Linked DNA regions of Homo sapiens: region 1 is linked to region 2. The links are contacts of gene promoters, found by promoter capture Hi-C in human tissues and cell types (Jung and others, 2019). All regions are on one chromosome and are shown on one strand. The core of a region is centred on a gene start or on the middle of the fragment in contact, and the rest is flanking DNA. Distances in the headings are between cores, read along the strand shown.

The links. Contacts are between HindIII fragments. The study calls those that stand out against the background at their distance.
Region 1: a contact is called between a fragment that was not itself captured here and the fragment with the promoter of KCNG1 in region 2, in 1 of the 25 tissues and cell types used here (mesendoderm cells).

What each region holds. Positions count from the first base shown.
Region 1 is chr20:52,047,935-52,052,964 of GRCh38, reverse strand. No RefSeq gene overlaps it. Among named protein-coding and RNA genes, the nearest start is that of ZFP64, 140 kb to the left of the region's middle. RefSeq lists enhancers at 3,037-3,554, 3,555-4,073, 4,074-4,591, 4,592-5,030. The HindIII fragment of the contact is 5,629 bases long and covers 74-5,030 here.
Region 2 is chr20:51,020,397-51,025,494 of GRCh38, reverse strand. KCNG1 (potassium voltage-gated channel modifier subfamily G member 1) reads left to right here and starts at 2,388. Exons shown (of 3, transcript NM_002237.4): 1 at 2,388-2,625. RefSeq lists a silencer at 2,290-2,459 and an enhancer at 4,184-4,747. The HindIII fragment of the contact is 10,697 bases long and covers 254-5,098 here.

The DNA.
Region 1 (5,030 bases), core at 1,639-4,138, 1.0 Mb before region 2:
ACTTTAAAAAATATATTTACATTTTCTTTAATTTTGATATGAAGGCTTAATATCAATTATCGTGTATTTTACTTTCCCATCTTAAATATTTTGAATATTTTAGAAGAAAAATATTTGTAAACATTTATGAGTTTTTTGGTTTACTTTTTAAAATTTTTTATACTTTATAATTGCATTTCAGGCCGGGCGCGGTGGCTCACGCCTGTAATCCCAGACTTTGGGAGGCCGAGGCGGGCGGATCATGAGGTCAGGAGATCGAGACCATCCTGGCTAACACGGTGAAACCCCATCTCTACTAAAAACACAAAACATTAGCCGGGCATGGTGGCAGGCGCCTGTAGTCCCAGTTACTCGGGAGGCTGAGGCAGGAGAATGGCGTGAACCTGGAAGGTGGAGCTTGCAGTGAACCGAGATCGCGCCACTGCACTCCAGCCTGGGCGACAGAGCGAGACATCGTCTCAAAAAGTAAATAAATATAATTGCATTTCATTTTTTTCACCTTTTAGATGATTATTGTCAATAGCAAAGGCCAGCAAATGACAGCCTAAGGGCTGAATTTAACCCATGAACTAAGAATGGTATATATACAGTATACAAATATATATTTATTAGGTATTTTTGTATATTCATATATTTATATATGTAATATTTTAAAATTTCTTTAAAATATTTATATATTACATATACAAATTGCACATATTTATATATGTAACATATAAATATTTTAAATAATTTTTTATAAATATATAAATATAAAGTATTTTATAAATATTAAATATACAATATTTTACAAGTATTTTAATAAATATTTTATAAATTTTTTTTGAGACAGGGTGTTGCTATGTTGCCTAGATGGAATGCAGTGGCATGATCACAGCTCACTGCAGCCTCGACCTCCTGGACTCAAGCAATCCTCCTCCTCCTGCCCCAGCCTCCCAAATAGCTGGGACCACAGGCATGTGCCACCACGCCCAGCTAATTTTTTTATTTTTTATAGAAACGAGGTCTTGCTCTGTTGCCCAGGCTGGTCTCAAACTCGTGGGCTCAAGTGATTCTCCTGCCTTAGCCTTCTGAAATGCTATGATTACAGGCACGAGCCACCGTGCCTGGCCTATTTTTTTAATATTTTTAAAGATTTGTAAAACAAAGAAGCATGTATGGACCACAAAGCCTAGTACTACCTGGCTCTTTACCAAAAAAAAAAAAAAAAAAATTGCCACATCCAGGTCAGTAGAACATAAATTATGTAAAAACTTGATCACTACACATTTAGTGATTTTGCTGAAATCAACACAAAAAAAAGAAATGTTATGGAATAAATATATAATAATTTATTAATTATGTTTGTTACTCATACTAATAATATCAGAGGCCCAGCAATACAACACCCAGACATATGCAATAATAATTAAATTCCCTCATCTTTGATAGTTTTCTGACTTTTAATCATATGTAAACCATAGCTTGACAGATATGTTTTGCTTCTGTCATTATGAATGTATACTTGTCAAAGTAGGAGGATAAAATGTTTTATTTAAGATTGATTTTTTTATTTTTACACATTCCAGCATATGATATGTGGGCTATGGCCCACAAACATGGTTGAAAAATCTGCCCGTCTGTCTTGCTCTGCCTCTTAAGCGAGTTTCAGTCCTTGTCTCACCCCAGAAACTTTGAGAAGTAAATGTCAGATCCCAGTATCTATCGCCCTGTGTTGGCAATGGGCTGAATTATCACTCTTTTGCTTCTTTTTTTGGGGGCGGTGGGGGACAGAGTTTTGTTCTTGTTGCCCATGCTGGAGTGCAATGGCGCGATCTTGGCTCACCGCAACCTCTACCTCCTGGGTTCAAGCGATTCTCCTGCCTCAGCCTCCCGAGTAGCTGGGATTACAGGCATGCGCCACCACGCCCGGCTATTTTTGTATTTTTTTAGTAGAGACGAGGTTTCACCATGTTGGTCAGGCAGGTCTGGAACTCCCGACCTCAGGTGATCCGCCCACCTCAGCCTCCCAAAGTTCTGGGATTACAGGCTTGAGCCACCGCGCCCGGCCACACTTTTGCTTCCGTGTGGACTTTTTGTTCAAATCAGTTCTGAATTGAACATTCATAACCAGAGGAGCCTCTGTACTTTATGTTAATACTCTAGACACATAATAACTCATAAATACATACATCAGCTAAGGTGCTTTATTAGGCAAAGTTTTTAGCCCAGAAAACAAAGTCATTCTGGTCAAATCCCATTTTTCTTTTTGGTAATCACCATCACCTGTGGCAAATGCTTCAGGCCAATGTTTCCATTCAGTCTCAGACCTCCATCTTTTTTATTGATAATATTTCCACCCAGGAAAGAAGCACATCTTCCAATTACTTGCACAAAGGCAAAGAGTGAAAAGCCATGGATATTCCTAAAGAAGAAAGTCTCAATCTCCTTACAAATAGAGGCAAAGTAAAAAAGGAAGAAGAGGAGAAAGAGGAGGAGGAAGGAGGAGGAAGGGGAGAAGCAGAAGGAGAAGAGGAAGAAGGGAAAAAAGTATAAGGAGGAAGAGAAGGAAAAGAAGATAAAGGAGAAGGAAGATAAGAAGAAGAATTGGAGGAGGAAGATTTATTTATTTTTGAGACGGAGTCTCACACTGTCGTCCAGGCTGGAGTGCAGTGGCATGATCTCCACTCACTGCAACCTCTGCCTCCTGGGTTCAAGCGATTCTCCTGCCTCAGCTTCCCAGGTAGCTGGGATTAGAGGCATGCGCCACCATGCCCAGCTAATTTTTTGTATTTTTCCTAGAGACGGGGTTTCACCATGTTGGCCAGGCTGGTCTCGAACTCCTGACCTCGTGATCCGCCTGCCTCAGCCTCCCAAAGTGCTGGGATTATAGGCGTGAGCCACCATGCCCAGCCAGGAGGAGGAAGATTAAAAGAGGAGGCCGGGCATGGTGGCTCACGCCTGTAATCCCAGTACTATGGGAGGCTGAGGTGGGTGGATCACTTGAGGTCAGGAGTTCGAGACTGGCCTGGCCAACATGGTGAAACCCTGTCTCTACTAAAAATACAAAAATTACCCCAGCATGGTGGCACTCGCCTGTAATCCCAGCTACTTGGGAGGCTGAGTCAGGAGAATCGCTTGAACCCGGGAGGCTGAGGTTGGAAGGAGCCAAGATCACACCACTGCACTCCAGCCTGGGCAAGAGAATAAGACTTCGTCTCAAAAAAAAGAAAAAAAAAAAAAGAGGGAAGAGGAATTAGAAGAAGAAGAAAAGGAGGGAAAAGGAGGAGGGGAAGAGGGGAGAAGAAAAAGGAGTGGTAGTGGGAGGAGCTGAGAAAGGAGCAGAGGAGGGTGGGTGAAGGAGTAGGAGAAGGGCTCTGACCCCTACTGAGTTCTTATCAGTCTCCTCGACCTTAATTGCCTCCCTCCCTTTTGGCTTTTACCAGTTACACCAGTTACTGCGCTTTCTTTCATGGTGAAAAGAAGGACCAGAGTTGCTGTCACCACCTCCTTTTCAGAGTGAGCCTTCTAAGAGCTGAGGCCGAGTGAGCCTTCTAAGAGCTGAGGCCTTTGGCTCTCTCTCCTGTAGCACACTGGCCAGGCCCTGGAGCTCAGGCTGTCGCTGATCACACCCAGCTCTTGAGAGCAAACTGACCACCCTCTCCAAGGGACCCACCTGGAAACTTCTGCGATCCATTCTATTCGTTCAGACTGTAGGCTGAGAGTCCCTTTAAACTGCACTGGGCTGCTATCTCTTAGCATGTATGATTTGAGTGTTCCTTTAAGTGCTCTACAAAAGCCAGAAAGCAGGCAGGGGAAATCCTAGGTCTAAGAAATTAGGAAAGCTTTCTATTTTTGTTGGGTAAGTTTGATTCTGCAAATCATTTTATAAAAATACACTGAGAAAGTAGTCTAGCACACTTGCTACATTTTTAACATTCCTAAAGTTGCCCACAGTACTTAAAAAAAAAAAAAACGGTTTGTGTCACTTTCAATTGGGGCTAAAAGATCTTTTTGTTTGTTTTCTTGTCTTTAAAAATACTGATACCTGCATCTAATTTCTTGCCAAAAAATACGAATAAAAATACTGATTCAATAAGGAGGGCTGGGGTCTTTTTTCCAGATTAGATTTTAATTTTAAACTCAGGTCCACTATTCTGACGCGCCAGGACAAATAACTGTATGTGAGCCTATAAATTAACTTCCCTTAATTCCATCACTGATGAATTTTCATGTCGATAAGCCCCCCAAAAAGGAGGGAGGAGGGTCCCCTGTAACCAAACATAAGTCAGTTTACAAAGGAGTTCGGGGGACTTGGGGACACTGACTCCTCTTCAGAATTGCCTAAAGAGACTGGCCATTGACAATTTAAATCTTCAGTGCTTTATCTCTTTGTTTGAGTCTTGGAATGCCATTGATACCTTCTTTGTATTTATAATTGTTTTAATTAGCTACCCAGCGGGGGCCTCTCTCCCAGCTTGGATTATGGGCTGCACAGCGGGACAGGACAACCCAGTTAAAATAAAGCACAGACATTATGGCTCGCTTAATTTCTTTTATCTGTGTCCATTTTTTTTTCTCTTATTCCCCCTCATTTTCATCCTCTTTTTTCTTTTTTTCTTTTTTCTCCCCCTTGTTGTCTGTGGAAGGCAGGGGCAAAAAGCCTTGACACCTTGAATGGCTTAGCTTTTGAAGAATCAAAGTATGGAAAAAACTCAACCATGGATATTTATCAGCAGTTCACATCTCAGCGGAAAAAAGAAATATCGCCGATGTGCTTGTCCACTGCGTTTGATAACATTTCATAAGCCTCAAACGCGATCATATCTTGAGCGATTATGCTGACATGTACGTCGGTTGCCTGACTTTTGTGGGTGGAGTGAGGGGAAAGTTTGCAAAAAAGCTTCTCTCCGCGGCCCCTGTGTTATTTGTTCTTACTGACCACATCCTTCTTTTGTGGGTGGAAATCTGGAGGATCAATTATGATGCAGATCTGATACTATTTCCATTTGTGGGAGCGGTGTGGCCCGGGCGTTTGGACTTTGGGAAAT
Region 2 (5,098 bases), core at 1,139-3,638:
ATTGCACCACTGCACTCCAGCGGGTGACAGAGTCAGACCCTGTCTCAAAAACAAGATAGAGAGCAATTTTCTGGCTGGGTGCAGTGGCTCACGCCTGTAATTCCAGCATTTTGGGAGGCTGAGGCTGGCGGATCACTTGAGGTTGCGAGTTCAAAACTAGCCTGGCTAACATGGTGAGACTCCGTCTCTACTAAAAATACAAAAATTAGCTGGGCATGGTGGCACACACCTGTAGTCCCAGCTACTCAGGAGGCTGAGGCAGGAGAATCGCTTGAACCCAGGGGGATGGAAGTTGCAGTGAGCTGAGATCACACCACTGCACTCCAGCCTGGGAGACACAGAGAGACTATGTCTCAAAAAAAAAAAAAAAAAAAAAAATTTCAGATGGGAAAGGAAGGCAGAAGCCTGATCCACCACAAGAGGAGTGTTTCTCAATATGTAATCCAGGGACCCTCTGACAACAAAAGCCCACCCCACCCCACTCAGGCCCCTCCCCCACACTGCTGGTTGGTCTCTTTGATGTTTCTCAGACATGCCTCCTTCTCTCCTGCTTGAAGGCCAGTGCCTTTGATGTTCTGTCCACCTAGAAAGCTCTCTTCCCATCTTGCCAGATGGGCTCCTTCTGGCTCAGGGCTCCATGTAACCATCACCTCCACAGGAGCCCTCCCCCATTATTCTATCTAAAGTGGCCTCTCTGGCTTCATTCTGCAATCACGTATTTCAGCAGTTTCCCAATTCTGCCAAGCCCCCAGTAGAAGGTGAGCTCTTGGAAACAGGTCCTTAGGCAGATCCTTGTCTGTCCAGGCCTCCACCTCACCAGTAAGCCAGTGTTTTTATTCTTGTTGTTTTAGAGGCTGGATCTCGCTCAGTCACGCAGGCTGGATTGCAGTGGTGCCATCATAGTGCACTATAACCTGGAACTCCTATGCTCCACCCGGCTGGGACTGCCGCGCAGGCTAGTGTGCCCTGCGCTCATTTCTTAGGGTTAACCCTAACCCACTTAATGAGCACCCACGACTCCCCAACCCGAGCCCCACTCAAGCAGAAGGCCTCAGGCTGGTCGGCAGCAGGGTTTCTTCATGTCCTTTCTTGGTTCTCTGATGATAGGCAAAGGCAGTAGAGACAGAAAGGAAAAGAGGAACGGAGTGCAAGAGACAGAAAGGAGAAGAGGAACGGAGTGCAAGAGACAGAAAGGAGAAGAGGAACGGAGTGCAAGGCAAGCCACCCTAAGAGGCCAGCCCTGCCAGCAGCACAGATCCCTCCAAACCAATAGGTCCCTCCAACTCAGTAGATTCCTCCAACCCAATAGATCCCTCCAACCCAACCTCCAGCATCTGTGCAGCATCCTACCAACTCCGAGGCTAGGCGGCCACACTGGGAGCAAGACCCCAGGACCTGGTCCAAGTGCCCTGCACCGGCCAGGGGAGTGGACGACGAAGTGCGGCTCTGCTAGCCCGGGAGGGCTCTGGGGCCTCGGCCCCGCGGGACTGGAAGGGAAAACACCTGGCACGGTACGTACTGGCCCTAGGAATTTGGCACAGCAAGATGCTGGCAGTCCCTGGGTGGCGGTGGCAGGAAGGGCCCAAGGGCAACATTGGTCTAGGAGGTCGAGAAAAGGCGCGCGATATATGGCCCCCAGGATGTGGAAGCTTGCTTGGAGCGTTCGGCTCCAGGGCAGCAGCGCGTGGAGGGCCTCAAGGATGCAGTATTTGCCCGGGGTAGGGGGGCGAGGGACCCAGAGGCAGCAGTGCACTTGGACTTCCAGGACTTCCAGGGAAAGGCAGGAGACATGGCGCATGTGGTTCCCAGGATGTGTAAGCGCGTGGAGCGCGGCCCCGGGGCAGCGGAGAGTGGGGTTTTAATATCTAGCACATGTAGACCCTGGGGCGGTGCTGCTAGGGGCGCGGACCCGGGACCACCGGAGCACTTGCACCGCGGGGAAAGCTGACAGGGCGCGCGACCCTAGGAGGCTGCCGCGCCGCCTGGTGCGTGAAGCTCCAGGGCAGCGGAGCGCGGGGACCTTGAAGGCTGTCGCGTGCAGGCGAAGGGGCCGCAGGGTGGTCGCTCCTGGGAGAGCAGACGGGGAAGAAGGCAACGGGAGGGAGGGCGTAGCGCGAGCAGTCCCGGACGCGGGCTCAGGAACTGGCCGCGAGGAGCGCAATCCAGCAGGCGCGCCAGGGCCCCCGGATCCAAGGTGCGGGGTCCCGATTGGGCGCCTGGACGCCCCGTGACGGTGGCGCCGCTGCCACTGTCCCGAAGCGAGGCGAGGCCAGGCGCTGCGCTTTCGGCTGCCCGCCCCTTCTCCCCGCCCCGCGCTCAGTCCCCTCCCTCCGTCCCGCCTCCTGCCTCGCTCCCTCCCTCGGCGGCTGCTGCGCCGCGCTCCCGGCGCACTCGGAGCCCGGCGGGGACCGGGAGGCAGAGACGGGGCGGCCGTGGCTCCGAGGGCGGGAGCTGAGCCGGGCCCCGGGACCGAAGTTTGGCGGCGGCTCCGGGAGGCAGAGCGGGCTCCCCGGGCGACTTCCAGGCCCCTCTCGCGTCCTCGCCCCGGACCCGTGGGCAGCCGGGGGGAACGGAAGCCGCGGCCGGGCCAACTCCGAGGCGGGGACGCCGCGACGGGAACTTGAGGTGGGAACTTTGCGCGCTGCAGCCTCGCCGGGCGCCACCGAAGCGCGAACCGGACCCCGAGCCTGCAAACTCGGGCTCGGGGGCGGCTGCACGTGGCCGTGGCCCTGAACTCCCTGCGGGGGCCTCGAAACCCGCCTGCGGGGAGGCCAGGGCGACAGAGGACTCGGGAGTCACCGCTGGTGCGTGGCGGCGTGGAGCGCGCTTGTTACGGCCAAGGTGCGGGTCCGGCTTCGGTTCATCCCAAGGGGTCACCGGGATGCGAAGTCCGGGACGTTCGCCGCCGCGGTGACCCCGGCGGGGGCGCATCCCGGCTGTGGGCCGAGGTTTCTCCCCCGATCCTGGGAGGAAGGAGAGTTAGGGATTGGGGTGGGGGAGTGTGTGTCACTTGCTCATTCACTGTATCCTTAGGCACAGTATGGAGCCCCCCTTCACCCCCACCGTGGGCCTGATTGAGTCATTCATTATGAACACAGCAAGCGTTTATTGAGCGCCTACTGTGTGCTAGGCACTGGGGATACTGAGACAGTTCACTGGGCACCCCCAGGAACTGGTAGGAAGGTGGTGGTCTCAGCCTTAGGGTTTCCATGTGGGAGAGAGGCTCAGCCCGGAGGTATGGAAGGAAAAGGGTGAAGTTCATTCATTCATTCATAGATTGGACAAAGATTGGTTGAGCACCTATTGTAAGCAGCTCATCATACCAAGCGCTCAACAGTCATTCATCCAGTTCACAAACATTTATGGAGGCGCTATGCTGGGGAGAAGTGAAGAGGGATGGAATGGGGGCACCCTTCATGCAGCTTAGAGAGAAGTAAGGATTAAGACCCAGGCCCCCGCTTGGGAGGCCGCAGACTGCCGGGGTGGCCAACTGTAGCAGCCCATGTATATAGGCAGAAGTCTTGGTTCATCTAATGCATTCCTTCTCAAGGTGGGAGGTGTGGAAGCTGGAATTGGTTCTAGAATAGGAAGAAAAGATCTTTTCAAAGCTCCTTAGGGGCGGGTGATGGGGTAGGGTGGGGAGGAGTTGAGAAACACTGATCCGACATTACTGAGGAATGCAGGTTCCCACCAATGGGGTTTATGAGTTAGGTTGTCCATTCAGCAGGCATTTTCTTAAGCACTCGCTGTTATTAAGCACTTAAAGGGTGCCAGGCACCAAAGTTACCCAGGTAAATGACAGACACATAGAAGAGGGAGACAGACACAGACGCCCCCACCCCCTTTGCTGACTCCCTGAGATAAGTACAGGGGGAAGTAAGAGGAGGGAGCAGGAACTGGTCTGATTCATTGTGGGGTGGGGGAAGTTCCTGCCCTATGAATCTGAGCAGAGGTTTATTCATTAGTGTGTGTTTGATACCCCCATACCCATGATGGCAGAGTCCCTATGAAGAGCCTCACCGGCAGCACATCTCCAAGAAAAGTTTGGCACTGCTGATTGGGGCCTTGCGGTCGGCACTGTGGCTAGGGCATGCTGTCCTTCTTTGGGGGATTTTTCAGGCTCTGCCAGACCTGAGCTCTATTTGTGCCTCCCCCGGCTTTTGGAGCCCTGCAGAGTCGCCTGATAGGAGGGGAAGGAGGGAAGGTGTGTTTGAAAAACAGGCAAGCGCTGGCCCCTGGGGATCACCCTCCTCAGTCATTCTCGAAGCCAGCCCGTTCCACGGGAAAGATGTCTGTCCTGGGACACACTCCTAACCTGCAGGGAACTGCAAGCACACTGGAAACGAGGCAACCTAGGTTCTTCTCCTGAGACTTGAGAGCCCAGGCCCGCAGCCTACAGCCTGGGTTGTCAAACCTTGGGAGTAAAAAAATCAACCAAACCCCTAGTTTTGCCAAACTCTGGGTTGCCTTTTTGGCCTCTGGGAGGGAGATGTGACATGGGAGGCAGAGGTTACTTGCTTCTCCCCATCCCCAAAGACTTTCCCGAAGCTTGTCCTGGAGCCTGATTGGGGCAGATCTGAGCACCACTTTGAATTCTCTGCACCAGACCCACAGCTGGGCTCTGGCAAGAGGTGAGGGAGGTGCCTCAGGAAACAGAAGAACAAAGAGATGTGTGCTGGATGCAGGGCTAAGCGACGCAAACCAGCTCCGAGGAACTCACCTCCTGGAGCCGCAGTAGGTACCTTGGCTCGGCTGTCCTTTCTCCACCCTGCTTTCCAATGTTGATGAAGAGTCAACATTGCCTGTTGCCAGAGGTCTAGGGGTACAGGAATCTACCCTTGGTTGTTGCATTAAGCCCAGAAATGGAGCCTGTGGGTGAAAAATGGCAGCTGGTAAAGCCCCTCTAAATAGAATTAATAAAAAGGGAGAGGCGAAGAACCTAGCTGAAGCACTCCATTGCTGTGGACCATTTTTATCATCCAGCAGACTGTATTTGATTAACGAAATCAGAAATGAAGTGACTTTGCTACAAATAGGATCTGAATTGTGCCTAAGACTGTCCGTTGCCCTGAGGTGAGTCTTCACTCTCATACCCACA